Regions from separate parts of the Homo sapiens genome. Here region 2 is linked to region 1. Evidence: promoter capture Hi-C in 16 types of primary human blood cells and fetal thymus (Javierre and others, 2016). All regions are on one chromosome and are shown on one strand. The core of a region is centred on a gene start or on the middle of the fragment in contact, and the rest is flanking DNA. Distances in the headings are between cores, read along the strand shown.

The links. Contacts are between HindIII fragments. The CHiCAGO score rates a contact against its expected background, and 5 or more counts as called.
Region 2: a contact is called between a fragment that was not itself captured here and the fragment with the promoter of AMZ1 in region 1, in 3 of 17 cell types (neutrophils, M1 macrophages and monocytes). The highest score is 8.2, in neutrophils.

What each region holds. Positions count from the first base shown.
Region 1 is chr7:2,683,155-2,689,861 of GRCh38, reverse strand. It overlaps AMZ1 (archaelysin family metallopeptidase 1), which reads right to left and starts at 1,660. Exons shown (of 7, transcript NM_001384743.1): 1 at 1,566-1,660. RefSeq lists an enhancer at 692-961. The HindIII fragment of the contact is 47,840 bases long and covers 1-6,707 here.
Region 2 is chr7:2,415,172-2,422,063 of GRCh38, reverse strand. All of the region lies in intron 1 of CHST12 (carbohydrate sulfotransferase 12), which reads right to left. Among named protein-coding and RNA genes, the nearest start is that of CHST12, 15 kb to the right of the region's middle. The HindIII fragment of the contact is 7,524 bases long and covers 1-5,075 here.

The sequences.
Region 1 (6,707 bases), core at 411-2,910:
CAGCTTCGCAGCACCCTCTGGCACTCACCAACCCATCCATGCTCCAAAAAGGAGACCCCCAGATGGAGGTTTCTCGCTGTCCTTTGGACCCTGTCACAGTGTGTCCCCCTCCTCTGCTAACTGCAGTCATGACAGCAGCCAACAGGTCTCATGCCTGCGTCCTCCAAGCCACACACGGAGCCGCAGGTGCCACTGCGGTGTTTCAGGTGGGGAAACTGAGGCTCAGACGTTAAGTGACTTGGCCCTGGCGACACAGCTGGGGGCCAGCGGGGCCTGGTTTCAAAGCCACGCTTCACACTGGAACCCCAGCTGCTCCTGGAGCAGGGATGTTCTGACGGGGACAGGGGGTAGGACGTCTCCTCTCCCAGAGCACCCGAGTTCCAGCCCTGCTGCTATTAATACCATGGGTAAACTCAGACGCTTCTCCTTCCTCCTCCCCTTGCCTTTTTTTGTCCAAAGACTGGAAAAGAGCACGTCCGCATCCCCCCCCCAGGGAGGTTCTGCCGCTCTAAGCAACAAGGGCCGCCAGACTGGCCCAGTAACCAGGTATCCAAGGTCAGGCTGCCCTAAACCGCACAGCTCCGGGCACTCATGCTCCCCCATCTGACCACGCAGATGCCTGGCCTTTGGGCAAGAAACCATGCTCTGATTCTCGCTATTCTGAATGCGCTTTGCAAAACCTCCCAGCAGCTGCATCGAGCTATTCATTAGCTGACAGCGGAGACCTTCAGGCAGAACCAGACGGACGGATGGTTTTGGGGGTTTCTCACCTCTCAGTTTCCATTCGCTAGGAGGGAAAACCGGGGGCTTAGACCGCAGGGGTAGTGGCCTCCGGGCCAGACTCTTGGCTTCCTGTTCTCTCTCCTCACCTGCGAACCCCAAACTCCTCTGCCAAGTGTTTCCCTCCCGTGATGGGGGCAGAAAGGACCCAGGTCCCTGCCCTCCCCTGTCCTTTGTAAAGTTTGCCATTTCTCTGTCACCCCTCCCTTGCTTTTCTGGTTTTGAGACCTGTCTTACATCCCTGCAGGGATCATATCCACAGCCTTCTCCCTCAGTCTCCTGGGGGAGGAAGCCTTCTCCCTCCCCGGCTCATACACAGGCTGCGGGGAGCCCTGGGCACGACGAGATTCTCGGCGCCCTGGAGGTTCCCCGGGGACGTCCCGCACCCACCTGGCTCGCCCCAGCCCGGAAACGCCTTCTTTCGGGCGCTTGGCCCTGGATTCCCGACCCGTCCCCAGTTTGCTCCCATCGGGAAGCGCGCAGGTCGCCCTGGCCTGGGAGAGGATGGCGGGGAGGGGGCGCGTGGCCCTTCCCTGGCCCGGCCTTCCCTCTGCAGGACCTGCCGGGGCTGTGCGGACCCCGGCGCGGCGCTGCACCAAACCCTCGCCAAGTGCGCCCTTCGCGTCTCCGCGGTCCCCGCGCGCCCGTAGCCGCCGCCGCCCGGGCGCCCTCGGGACTTGGTGCGCGGGCCGGGCTGGACCCGGAGCTGCCCCTACCCACCCGCCCCGGCACGGAGGTCCCTCTCGGTCCCTGCGCCCCCGAGTCTTCCCCGCGCGCCCCCCTACCTCGCAGTCCCGCGCCCGCCGGAGCCGGCAGAGGCCGCGCCGGGCACCGAGCCCCGGGCAGCAGCGTGGGCAGCTCGGCCTGGGCCGGGAGGATCGGGAGGTCCCGGTGACGTCGGCGCGCGGGGCAGGGACCGAGGCGGGCGGGACTGGGGCCGGTGTGGGGCCGCGGGCAGGACAGGAGGGCCACACCCCTCCCGGCGCTCAGCGTCCTGCCCCACTCCCTCCAGCTGCCCGCGGTGGAGCTCACGTGGGACCCTCCAGCCTCCCAGAAACACCCGGGCAGGGGGGCCCCAGAGCCTAAAGCCAAACAGGTGAGGGAGGTCAGTCAGCCCGGGCCAGTTCGTGCCTCCCCAGGTGAGAGGAGTAAACCCGGCTACTCTGCAAGGCGCCAGGTGAAGAGGTGAACCAGGCCACCAGTTAAGGCCCCAGGTGAGAGGGGTGAACCAGCGCCACGAGGTGAGGAAGGGGAACCAGGCCACCAGGAGAGGCCCCAGGTGAGAGGGGTGAACCAGGCTATCAGGCAAGGCGCCAGGTGAGGGGGTGAACGAGGCCACCAGGTGAGGAGGTGAACCAGGCTTATCAGCGAAGCCCCAGGTGAGAGGGGTGAACCAGGCCCCTAGGTTAGCCCTACAGTCAGTGGCCCTGAGGACGGGCGCCCTGCCCTACCCTGGCCAGCTGTGAGTGCAGCCCTGGCCCTGTGCCAGCCACCAGGAGATGGAAAGGACTCTAAGTGCGGAAGGATGCCGTGAAGGCCGGCATGACGGCTCCAGACAGAGCCCAGAGGCCTTTTCCATAAACTGCCCTTTTCCTCTCTGCAAACCCTCCCAGCACCAGCTTCCCTCGGGCAGCCTCCCACCAGCTCTGCTTCACCGTGCAGAAATGCCCCCCACGCCCTCAGCAGCGCCCCACAGATGGCTGAGGGATTCGTCACCATCGTCCCACACCAGTGCAAAGAATTTTTTTTTTTTTTTAGATGGAGTCTCGCTCTGTCGCCCAGGCTGGAGTGTAATGGTGCAATCTGGGCTCACTGCAACCTCCACCTCCGGGGTTCAAGTCATTCTTCTGCCTCAGCCGCCTGAGTAGTGGGGATTATAGGTACCCATCATTGTGTCCAGCTAATTTTTGTATTTTTAATAGAGATGGGGTTTCACCTTCTTGGCCAGGCTGGTATCAAACTCTTGACCTCATGATACACCCGCCTCAGCCTCTCAAAGTGCTGGGAGTACAGGCGTGAGCCACCACACCCAGCCTCAAAGAATTTTTTTAAGCCTTAAGAAATAACACGGCTGGGCGTGGTGGCTCATGCCTGTAATCCCAGCACTTTGGGAGGCTGAGGCAGACAGATCACAAGGTCAGGAGTTCAAGACCGGCCTGGCCAGTATGGTCAAACCCCGTCTCTATTAAAAATAAAAAAATTAGCTGGGCGTGGTGGCTGGTGCCTATAGTCCCAGCTACTCGGGAGGCTGAAGCAGGAGAATCACTTGAACCCGGGAGGCGGAGGTTGCAGTGAGCCGAGATTATGCCACTGCACTCCAGCCTGGGTGACAAAGCAAGACTTTGTTTCAAAAAAAAAAGAGAGAGAGAGAAAAACAACACAACACTAGGTGTCCGGTGTGCAAAATTTGGAAAATTATGAAAAATAAAAACAAAAAGAAGACCCCATAAGCCAACTGTGTAGAGGTAACCTCTCTCACCTTCTTGTCAGACATCCTTCTGATCGCCTTCTCCTCCACATTGAAATGTATTTTTAAAAAGTTTTTTTTGAGACAGGATCTTGCTCTATTGCCCAAGCTAGAATGCACTGGTATAAACGCGAGTCACTGTAGCCTCGACCTCCTAGACTCCAGCAATCCTCCTCCCTCAGCCTCCTGAGTAGCTGAGACTACAGGTACGTGCCATCACACCTGGCTAATTTTGAAACTTTTATGTAGAGATGGGATCTCGCTATGTTGCTCAAGCTGGTCTCAAACTCCTGGGCTCAAACAACCCTCCCAGCTCGGCCTCCCAAAATGTTGAGATCACAGGTATGAGCCACCGTGCCCAGCCTAAATACATATTTTAAGGGATTCACGTCACATACTGCGTTCTGCAGGCGGCCCGTGACTTCACACTCATCAATAGCCAAAAGTCCGTCTCCACACCCTGATGGTCTGCGCTGGACTCCGTGTCATGGATCTGTCACCTGCTTTGGGATATTTTGGTTTCTCCTGGTGTCTCACTAGCATATATCACTGTGATAGACGATCTTGTTTCCACAGATCTTTGTACAGGTATCTGGTCCCCCTCACCTTGGGATAAATTCCTACAAATAGATTGTGACTCAGAAAGCTGCACTTCTTCACACGTGTTGCCGCAGGGATTTTCCAGGTTATTTCTGTTGGGGATGGAGAACCCAGAACCTGAGAAAAGATGAATGTTCTTTTTTTTTTTTTTTTTTTTTTCTTGAGACGGAGTCTCGCTCTGTCACTCAGGCTGGAGTGCAGTGGCGTGATCTCGGCTCACTGCAAGCTCCACCTCCCGGGTTCACACCATTCTCCTGCCTCAGCCTCCTAAGTAGCTGGGACTACAGGCGCCTGCCATCATGCCTAGCTAATTTTTGTGTTTTTAGTAGAGATGGGGTTTCACCATGTTGGCCAGGATGGTCTCGATCTCCTGACCTCGTGATCCGCCTGCCACGGCCTCCCAAAGTGCTGGGATTACAGGCATGAGCCACCGCACCCGGCCTTTTTTTTTTTTTGAGACGGAGTCTCACTCTGTTGCCCAGAGCTGGAGTACAAGTGGCGCGATCTCGGCTCACTGCAAACTCCACTTCCTGGGTTCAAGCGATTCTCCTGCCTCAGCCACCCAAGTAGCTGCGATTACAGGTGCCCGTCACCTCGCCCGGCTAATTTTTGTATTTTTAGGAAGGACAGGGCTTCACCCTGTTGGCCAGGCTGGTCTCGAACTCCTGACTTCAAGTGATCCACCCGCCTTGGCCTCCCAAATTGCTGGGATTACAGGCGTGAGCCACCGAGCCTGGCCTGAATGTTCTGTCCTAAAGCTGCTTATTACAAAGAAGTTGTGGAATATCCTCCCCCCAACCCCCACGCCCCTCCCTGAATAGCCACCGGAAAGGAAATTATGCATCGAGGCCGGGCGCGGCGGCTCAACCTGTAATCCCAGCACTTTGGGAGGCCGAGGCGGGCGGATCACGAGGTCAGAAGATCAAGACCATCCTGGCTAACACAGTGAAACTCCATCTTTACTAAAGATACAAAAAATTAGCCGGGCGTGGTGGCGGGCGCCTGTAGTCCCAGCTACTCAGGAGGCTGAGGCAGGAGAATGGCGTGAACCTGGGAGGCGGAGCTTGCAGTGAGCTGAGATCGCGCCACTGCACTCCAGCCTGGGCGACAGAGACTCCGTCTCAAAAAAAAAAAAAAAAAAAGCAATTATGTGTCAAGCCCAGAGTGGCAGTTCCTCCTCTGTCTGTTGGGTCAGCCCGGGAGACTGGAAGCCCAGATGAGTAGGGCCCCTCCTGGGTGCCCCAAGTTGGGTGGCGCCATGCCCAGTGCCAGGACCCCCGAAACACAGAGGCAGCCTGCTGATGACCTGGCCCCTGCCAGCCAAGGCTTCACTCAGCCAACGCCCTGTCCACACTGCACCCGGGACACGCTGGTCTCCCACCGGCAGACTGCACACCCCTTTCTGGTTGAAGCTACCTCGTCAGAGTCTATTCTAGAAAGAGGCCGTGATATGGGGACCCCTGTCCTTTCAGTGATGAACAAAGGGGGCCGCCCCCAACTTTGACCCCATCACCATCCTCTGACCCAGGCCGACTTGGGGTTAAAAGAGAACTGTGTGGCCTGGGGAAGCTGCTTCACCTTGCCCTGCCTCAGTTTCCCCAGGGTGGGTTACATAGCGGCTCCCAAAAATGTGCCTACTTGCACCATCAGAATGGGACCTTATTTGGAAACCGAGTCGTTGCAGATATGGTTAAAGTAAGGATCTCAAGATGAGGTCATCCTGGGTCAGAGTCAGGGTGGGCCCTAAATCCAATGCAAGTGACTTTGTAAGAGACAGAAAGAGGTTCCTCATTGGAGGAACAAGACAATGTAAAAAATAATGACAATTTTTTTTTTTGAGATGGAGTCTCGCTCTGTCACCCGGGCTGGAGTGCAGTGGCGTGATCTTGGCTCACTGCAACCTCTGCCTCCCAGGTTCAAGCGATTCTCCTGCTTCAGCCTCCTGAGTAGCTGGGATTATAGGCGCGTGCCACCAAGCCCAGCTAATTTTTGTATTTTTAGTAGAGATGGGGTTTCACTGTGTTGGCCAGGCTGGTCTTAAACTCCTGACCTCAAGTGATCCACCCGCCTCGGCCTCCCAAAGTGCTGGGATTATAGGCATGAGCCACTACACCCAGCCAACAATTTTTTAAAAAGAGAGAGAAAGAGGCTGGGTGAGGTGGCTCACGCCTGTAATCTCCAACACTTTGGGAAGCCGAGGTGGGAGGATCACTTGAGCCCAGGAGTTGGAGACCAGCCTGGGCAGCATCTCTACAAAATATTGTAAAAAACAGACAGAGCTGGGCGCGGTGGCTCGCGTCTCTAATCCCAGCACTTTGGGAGGCCAAGGCAGGCGGATCACGAGGTCAGGAGATCGAGACCATCCTGGCTAACACGGTGAAACCCCGTCTCTATTAAAAATATAAAAAAATTAGCCAGGCGTGGTGGCAGGCACCTGTAGTCCCAGCTACTCGGGAGTCTGAGGCAGGAGAATGGTGTGAACCTGGGAGGCGGAGCTTGCAGTGAGCCGAGATCGTGCCACTGCACTCCAGCCTGGGTGACAGAGCCAGACTCTGTCTCAAAAAAAACAAAAACAAAAACAAACAAACAAACAAAAAAACAGAAAGTTGAAGACACAGAGACACAGAGGAGAAGACGGAGATGGGAGTGGTGCAGCCACAAGCCAAGGACACCTGGAGCCCCCAGAAGCAGGAAGAGGCAGGAAGGACCTTCCCCTGGAGCCCTCTGCAGAAGTTCGGCCCTGCCCCAGCCTTGACTTCAGACCACTGCCCTCCAGAATTGACAGTGAATGTGTGCTGTTTGAAGCCGCACAGCTGTGGTCATTTGTCACGGCAGCCGCAGGAAACTCATCCACATTGGA
Region 2 (6,892 bases), core at 64-2,563, 270 kb after region 1:
AGATAAGGGCGTTACTGAGCCAACCTAAGCACTTCTGCTTATTTTTCAGCCAAGAAGCATTACATATATACAACCAATGCCAGTGACTACATCATTTTATAAAACCTATGACTTTTCATGGATAATTTAATAAGATTTCAGTTTAATTACAAGGAAAATATTTTAGGATTATAACTAAGTATTAATAATATCTTTTAGGGCCAGCTATGGTGGCTCATGCCTGTAATCCCAGCACTTTGGGAGGCTGAGGCGGGAGAACTGCCCAGGAGTTTAAGACCAGCCTGGGCAACATAGCAAGACCCTATCTCTATAAAAAATGTTTAAAAAGGCTGGGCGCAGTAGCTCATGCCTGTAATCCTGGCACTTTGGGAGGCTGAGGTGGGCAGATCACTTGAGCTCAGGAGTTTGAGGACAGCCTGGCCAACATGGCAAAACCCTGTCTCTACTAAAAATAAAAAAATTAGCCTGGCATGGTGGTGTACACTTGTAATCCCAGTTTCTTGAGAGGCTGAGATGGAAGGACCATTTGAACCTGGCAGGTGGAAGTTGCAGTGAGCCAAGATCGCGTCACCGCACTCTAGCCTGGGCAACAGAGCGAGACTCCGTCTCAAAAAAAAAAAAAAAAGTAAAAAAAAAAACCAAACTAAAAAACTAGCCAGGCATGGTAGTGTGTGCCTGTAGTCTCAGCTACTTAGGAGGCTGAGGTGAGAGGATTGCTTGAGCCCAAGAGTTTGAGGCTGCAGTGAGCTATGATGTTGCCACTGCATCCCAGCCTGGGCAACATACCAAGACCCTTCTCTACAAAAAAAATGTAAAAAAAAAAAAAAAAAAAAAAAGAATTAGCAGGACATGGTGGTGTGCACTTACAGTCCCAGCTACTCAGGAGGCTGAGGCAAGAGGATCGCTTGAGCCCAGGAGATGGAGGTTGCAGTGAGCTGTGATGGCACCACTGCACTCCAGCCTGGGGAACAGAGTGAGACTCTGTCTCAAAAAAAAAAATTAACACAGAATTATCATATAAAATTACCATATGAGGGGCCAGGTGCAGTGACTCACGCCTGTAATCCCAGCTACTCAAGGAGGCTGAGGCAGAATTGCTTGAACCCAGGAGGCAGAGGTTGCAGTGAGCTGAGATTGTACCACTGTATTCCAGACTTGGTGACACAGTGAGACTCCGTCTTAAAAAATAATAATAAAATAAAATTGCCATATGATACAGCAATTCCACTTCTGTGTATACACCCAAAATAACTGAAAGCAAGGTTGTTGTTCTTTTCCTGAGACAGGGTCTCACTGTGTTGTCCAGGCTGGGGTGCAGTGGTGCCATCAAACCTCACTGCAGCCTTGAACTCCTGGGCTCAAGCAGCCTCCTGAGTAGCTGAGACTATAGGTGGTTGCCACCATGCCCAGCTAATTTTTTGTAGAGATGGCATCTTGCTATGTTGTCAGGGTGGTCTTGAATTCCTGGCCTCAAGTGATCCTTCCACCTTGGCCCCCCAAAGTGCTGGGATGACAGGCATGAGCCACTGCACTCAACTTAGAGCAGGGTCTTGAAGAGATGCTTGCACACCCATGTCCACACTGATGTCAGCATCATTCACAATAGCCAAAAGGTGGAAGGAACCCAAGTGTTCGCGACAGATGAACAGACAAGCAAACTGTGGTCAACCCATGTAGTAGAATATTACTCAGCCTTCAAAAGAAAGGAAATTCTGACACATGCTACAACATGGATGAACCCTGAAGACATTATGCTCAGTGAAATAAGCCAGAAACAAAAGGACAAATACTTGGCCGGTGTGGCGGCTCACACCTGTAATCCCAGCACTTTGGGAAGCCGAGGCGGGCAGATCACGAGGTCAGGAGATCAAGACCATCCTGGCTAACACGGTGAAACCCCGTCTCTACTAAAAATACAAAAAATTAGCCGGGCATGCTGACGGGCGCCTGTAGTCTCAGCTACTCTGGAGGCTGAGGCAGGAGAATGGCATGAACCCGGGAGGCAGAGCTTACAGTGAGGTGAGATCGTGCCACTGCACTCCAGCCTGGGCAACAGAGCGAGACTCCATCTCAAAAAAAAAAAAAAAAAAAAAAAGACAAATATTTCAAGATTCTACTTGTATGAGGTTCCCAGGGCAGTTAAATTCCTAGAGACAGAAAGTAGAATGGTGGTTGTGGGGGCAGGGGAGGGGGATGGGAGTTTGTGTTCAATGGGGACAGAGCTTTAGTTTTACAAGATGAACATAGTTCTGGGGCTGGAGGGTGGTGATTGCTGCAGAGTGATGTGAACGTGCTTAACACCACCAAACTGCATGCTTAAAAATGGTTACAATGGTAATTTTTTTTTTTTTTTTTTGAGACGGAGTTTTGCTCTTGTTGCCTAGGCTTGAGTGCAGTTGCACAATCTCAGCTCACTGCAACCTCTGCTTCCCGGGTTCAAGCGATTCTCCTGCCTCAGCCTCCTAAGTAGCTGGGATTACAGGCTCCCACCACCATGCCTGGCTAATTTTTGTATTTTTAGTAGAGACGGGGCTTCACCATGTTGGCCAGGCTGGTCTCGGACTCCTGACCTCAGGGAATCCACCTGCCTTGGCCTCTCAAAGTGCTGGGATTACAGGCGTAAGCCACTATGCCCAGCCATTTTTTTTTTTTTTTTTTTTTTGGAGACAGGGTTCCACTCTATCATTCAGACTTGAGTGCAGTGGCGTGATCTTGGCTCACTGCAACCTCCCCACTCAAGTGATCCTCCCACCTCAGCCTCCTGAGTAGCTGGGTTACAGGTGTGCACCACCACGCCTGGCTAATTTTTGTATTTTTAGTAGAGATGGGGTTTCACCATGTTGACCAGGATGGTCTTGAACTCCTGGGCTCAAGTGATCTACCTGCCTCGGCCTCCCAAAGTGATGGGAATACAGGCATGAGCCACCACGCCCAGCCAAGTTTTAATTTTAAAAGGCGGTTTGGACAGCCAGACATGGTGGTTCATGCCTGTGATCCCAGCAATTTGGGAAGCCAAGGCAGGGGGATTGCTTGAGCCAAGGGGTTCAAGACCAGCCTGGTCCACACAGTGAGACCTCATGTCTACAAATAATTTTTAAAATTAGCTGGGCATGATGGCACACACCTGTGGTCCCAGTTACTCTGGAGGCTGAAGTGGGAAAATGGCTTGAACCCAGGAGGTCAAGGCTGCAGTAAGCTATGATTGTGCCGTTGTACTCCAGCCTGGGTGACAGGGTGAGACCACATCCCAAAAAACAAAACAACAACAACAGCAACAGAAACAACAGCTTGGACATACAAGAATGTCTGGCCCAGTGACTGACACAGCTCCGGCCTGAAGCCCACGTGACTTTTGCTACCTTCTGGGCAGGAGAGAAGCATTCAGGGAAGGGTCCGATAGAACCGCTGGGCTGAGCACTGCGGTCATGATCCCACCTGCTTCCAAAACACATCATGGGCAACACTGAAGCCATAAAGTAATTTTTCATTAAAAAGAAATAGGACATGATTTCCAAATGCAAATCTCCCAGTGTTTCAACAAAAAGCCCCCTGTGATTTGAAGCAGAGCACGCAGAGGCATCTCAGATGAACAGACGTATAACCCGCCTGCGGCACACCAACCGTGGGCTGCTGCCTCCAGCAAGGGAACCCACAGAGCAAAGTTTCACCTAGAAGCATCATCCGCCAGGAAACTGTAGCGGTGGAGGTGCTTTTCCACGGCGGCTGTGTCAGATGCCCTCATAAATGGCACTGAAAATTATTAGGTTAGGTTTAAACGCAAACACTGTGGTTAGGCTGACAGAGTTGTGTCTTAGCTCCGGGTGGGGCTGTTAAATATTTCTTTGCTCACACACAACATGCAGGGCATGAAGCCAGGGGCAGACTCTGCAGCCCCAGGGAGCAAGTCCATGCCGGCTGCCCACGCAAGGCCACTGGTCCAAATACTCATGCTGACTGTGGGCAAAACACTAGAGAAAGAAAAGGCAGCTAGCACAGACAGCTATGGCCTTAGCTCACTCGTGTTCAGCTGTGTGTCACCGTGACGTGACCACAGCCATCCTGCTCTGGAAGACACTGCCACATGGCCAGATCTATATTAAGCCCCCCAGAAGCGCATTTTCCACATTGTTACAGCAGAACTGACATCGATCACACAAAAAGGTCACGTAATACGTGGCTAATTTTATGTGTCAACTGGACTGGGCCGTGGGGTACCCAGATATTTGGTTAAGCATACTCTGACTGCGTCTGTGAGCATGTTTCTGGAGGAGAGTAACATCCAAATGGGTGAACTGAGATATCGGATGCCCTCCCAGTATGAGAGGGCCTCAGCCAGTCCACTGAAGGCCCAAGTACAACAGAAAAGTGGAGTAAGGCCAGGTGTGGTGGCTCATGCCTATAATCACAGCACTTTGGGAGGCCAAGGCAGGCGGATCAGTTGAGGTCAGGAGTTCGAGACTAGCCTGGCCAACATGGTAAAACCCTGTCTCTACTAAAAATACAAAAATTAGTCAGGCCTGGTGGCACATGCCTGTAATTCCAGCTACATGGGAGGTTGAGGCAGGAGAATAGTTTGAACCTGGGAGGCGGAGGTTGCAGTGAGCTAAGATCACACCACTGTACTCCAGCCTGGGCAACACTGTGAGACTCCATCACAAAAAAAAAAAAAAAAAAAAGTCAGACATGGTGGCGCACACCTGTAACCCAGCTACTCAGGAGGCTGAGGCAGGAGAATTGCTTGAACCCAGGAAGCAGAGGTTGCAGTGAGCTGAGATCACGCCACTGCACTCTAGCCTGGCCAACAGAGCAAGACTCTGCCTCAAAAAAAAAAAAAAAAGGTAGAGTAAGAGAATCAACTCTCTCTGCCTGCCTGTCTTTGAGCTGGGACATTGGTCTTCGTCTTTGGACTCCGTCTCAGACTGGAGTCATACCATTGGCTCTCCAGGGTCTGAATTTCTCAGCCTCCGTAATTGTGTGAGCCAATTTCTTATCATCAATCTCTTTGTATACACATTGCAAAAGAAAAATAAAATCTCAGGACCCCGAATTCACCAAGCTAAAGGGAAAGTTAAGCTTAACAACCAAGTTACGCAAAAGAAAAGCTGCCTTCTTTTCTTTCCCAGATAAAGTAATTTACGTGCTTATTTATCGCAGGTAAAATGCAGATTTACTGTGCGGAGAAGGCGTATGTGACTCTGCCCCACTCCCTTCTTTTCACATGTAAAATGTAGATTCACTGAATGGTACTAAAAGCCTCACAAAAATGTGACCACTGGCCTCATTGCCTACTCCACCTCCTTTTCTTCCCCTCTTCCCCTCCTGCCTACTTTTTCCTCTTTAAATACTGAAGTTTCCAAAACCCTCTTTAGAAAAAGCACACAGGCCACAGATCCTACAATGACTTGTGTTTCTTTCTTAACCTTGGCAAAATACACCTCTAAATCGACTGAGATCTGTTTCTGTTTCCATGCCTGCTAACACAACATCCATTCTGCAGCCCATGGATCAAGCAGTAATTTTGACTTTTAGGTCTTATTATTAAAGGAATACATTTTGTAAGGCTAAAGCTGCCATAGTGATTCCTCTGTAGGATCTGGGCAAAGTAAACTGAAAACCTGGAAAGGATTCACCATTCTAATGCCTTTAAGAACATTCGGGATTCACAGGAAGAGATCAAAATAGCAACATTAATAGAAGTTTGAAGAGGTTGGTTCCAGTCCTCATGGATGACTCTGAGGAGTTCAAGACTCCGGTGCAGGAAGTAACAGCAGATGTGGTGGAAACAGCAAGAGAAGTAGAATCAGAAGTGGAGCCTGAAGATGTGGCCAAATAATTGCAATCTCATGTTCAAAGCTGAACAGATGAAGAGTTGCTTCTTACGAAGGAACGAAAGAGCAGTTTCTTGAGGAGGAATCTACTCTGGGTAAAGATGCTATGAACGCTGCTGAGATGACCAGAAAAGATTTAGAATATTCCATAGACTTACATGATAATGCAGTGGCAAGGTTTGAGAAGATTGACTACAATTTTAAAAGATGTTCTACTATAAGTAAAATGTTATCAAACAGCATCACGTGCTACAGGAAAACCTTTTGTAAAAGTAAGAGTCAATAAATGCAGCACACTTCATTGTTGTCTTAAGAAATTGCCAGCCAGGCGCGGTGGCTCACGCTTGTAATCCCAGCACTTTGGGAGGCTGAGGTGCGCGGATCACAAGGTCAGGAGATCGAGACCATCCTGGCTAACACGGTAAAACCCCGTCTCTACTAAAAATACAAAAAAAATTAGCCAGGCGTGGTGGCGGGCGCCTGTAGTCCCAGCTACTCAGGAGGCTGAGGCAGGAGAATGGCGTGAACCCGGGAGGCGGAGCTTGCAGTGAGCCAAGATCGTGCCACTGCACTCCAGCCTGGGCGACAGAGCGACTCTGCCTCAAAAAAAAAAAAAAGAAAAAAGAAAAGAAATTGCCATAGCCACTCCAGCCTTCAGCAACCACCGCCCTGATCAATCAGCAGCTATCAACATCAAGACAAGACCCTCCACCAGCAAAAAGATTGCCACTCGCTGAAGGCTCAGATAATTGTTAGCATTTTTTAGCAATATTTTTAAATTAACGTATGTACATTGTTTCTTAGACATAATGCTATTGCACACTTAATAGACTACAGTATAGTGTAAACATAAAACTTTTTTTTTTTTTTGAGGCAGAGTTTCGCTGTTGTCATCCAGGCTGGAGTGCAGTGGCACAATCTCGGCTCACTGCAACCTCTACTCTGGGGTTCAGGTGATCCTCCTGCCTTAGCCTCCTGAGTAGCCAGGATTACAGGCGCCCACCACCACATCTGGCTAATTTTTTGTATTTTTAGTAGAGATGGGGTTTCATCATGTTGGCCAG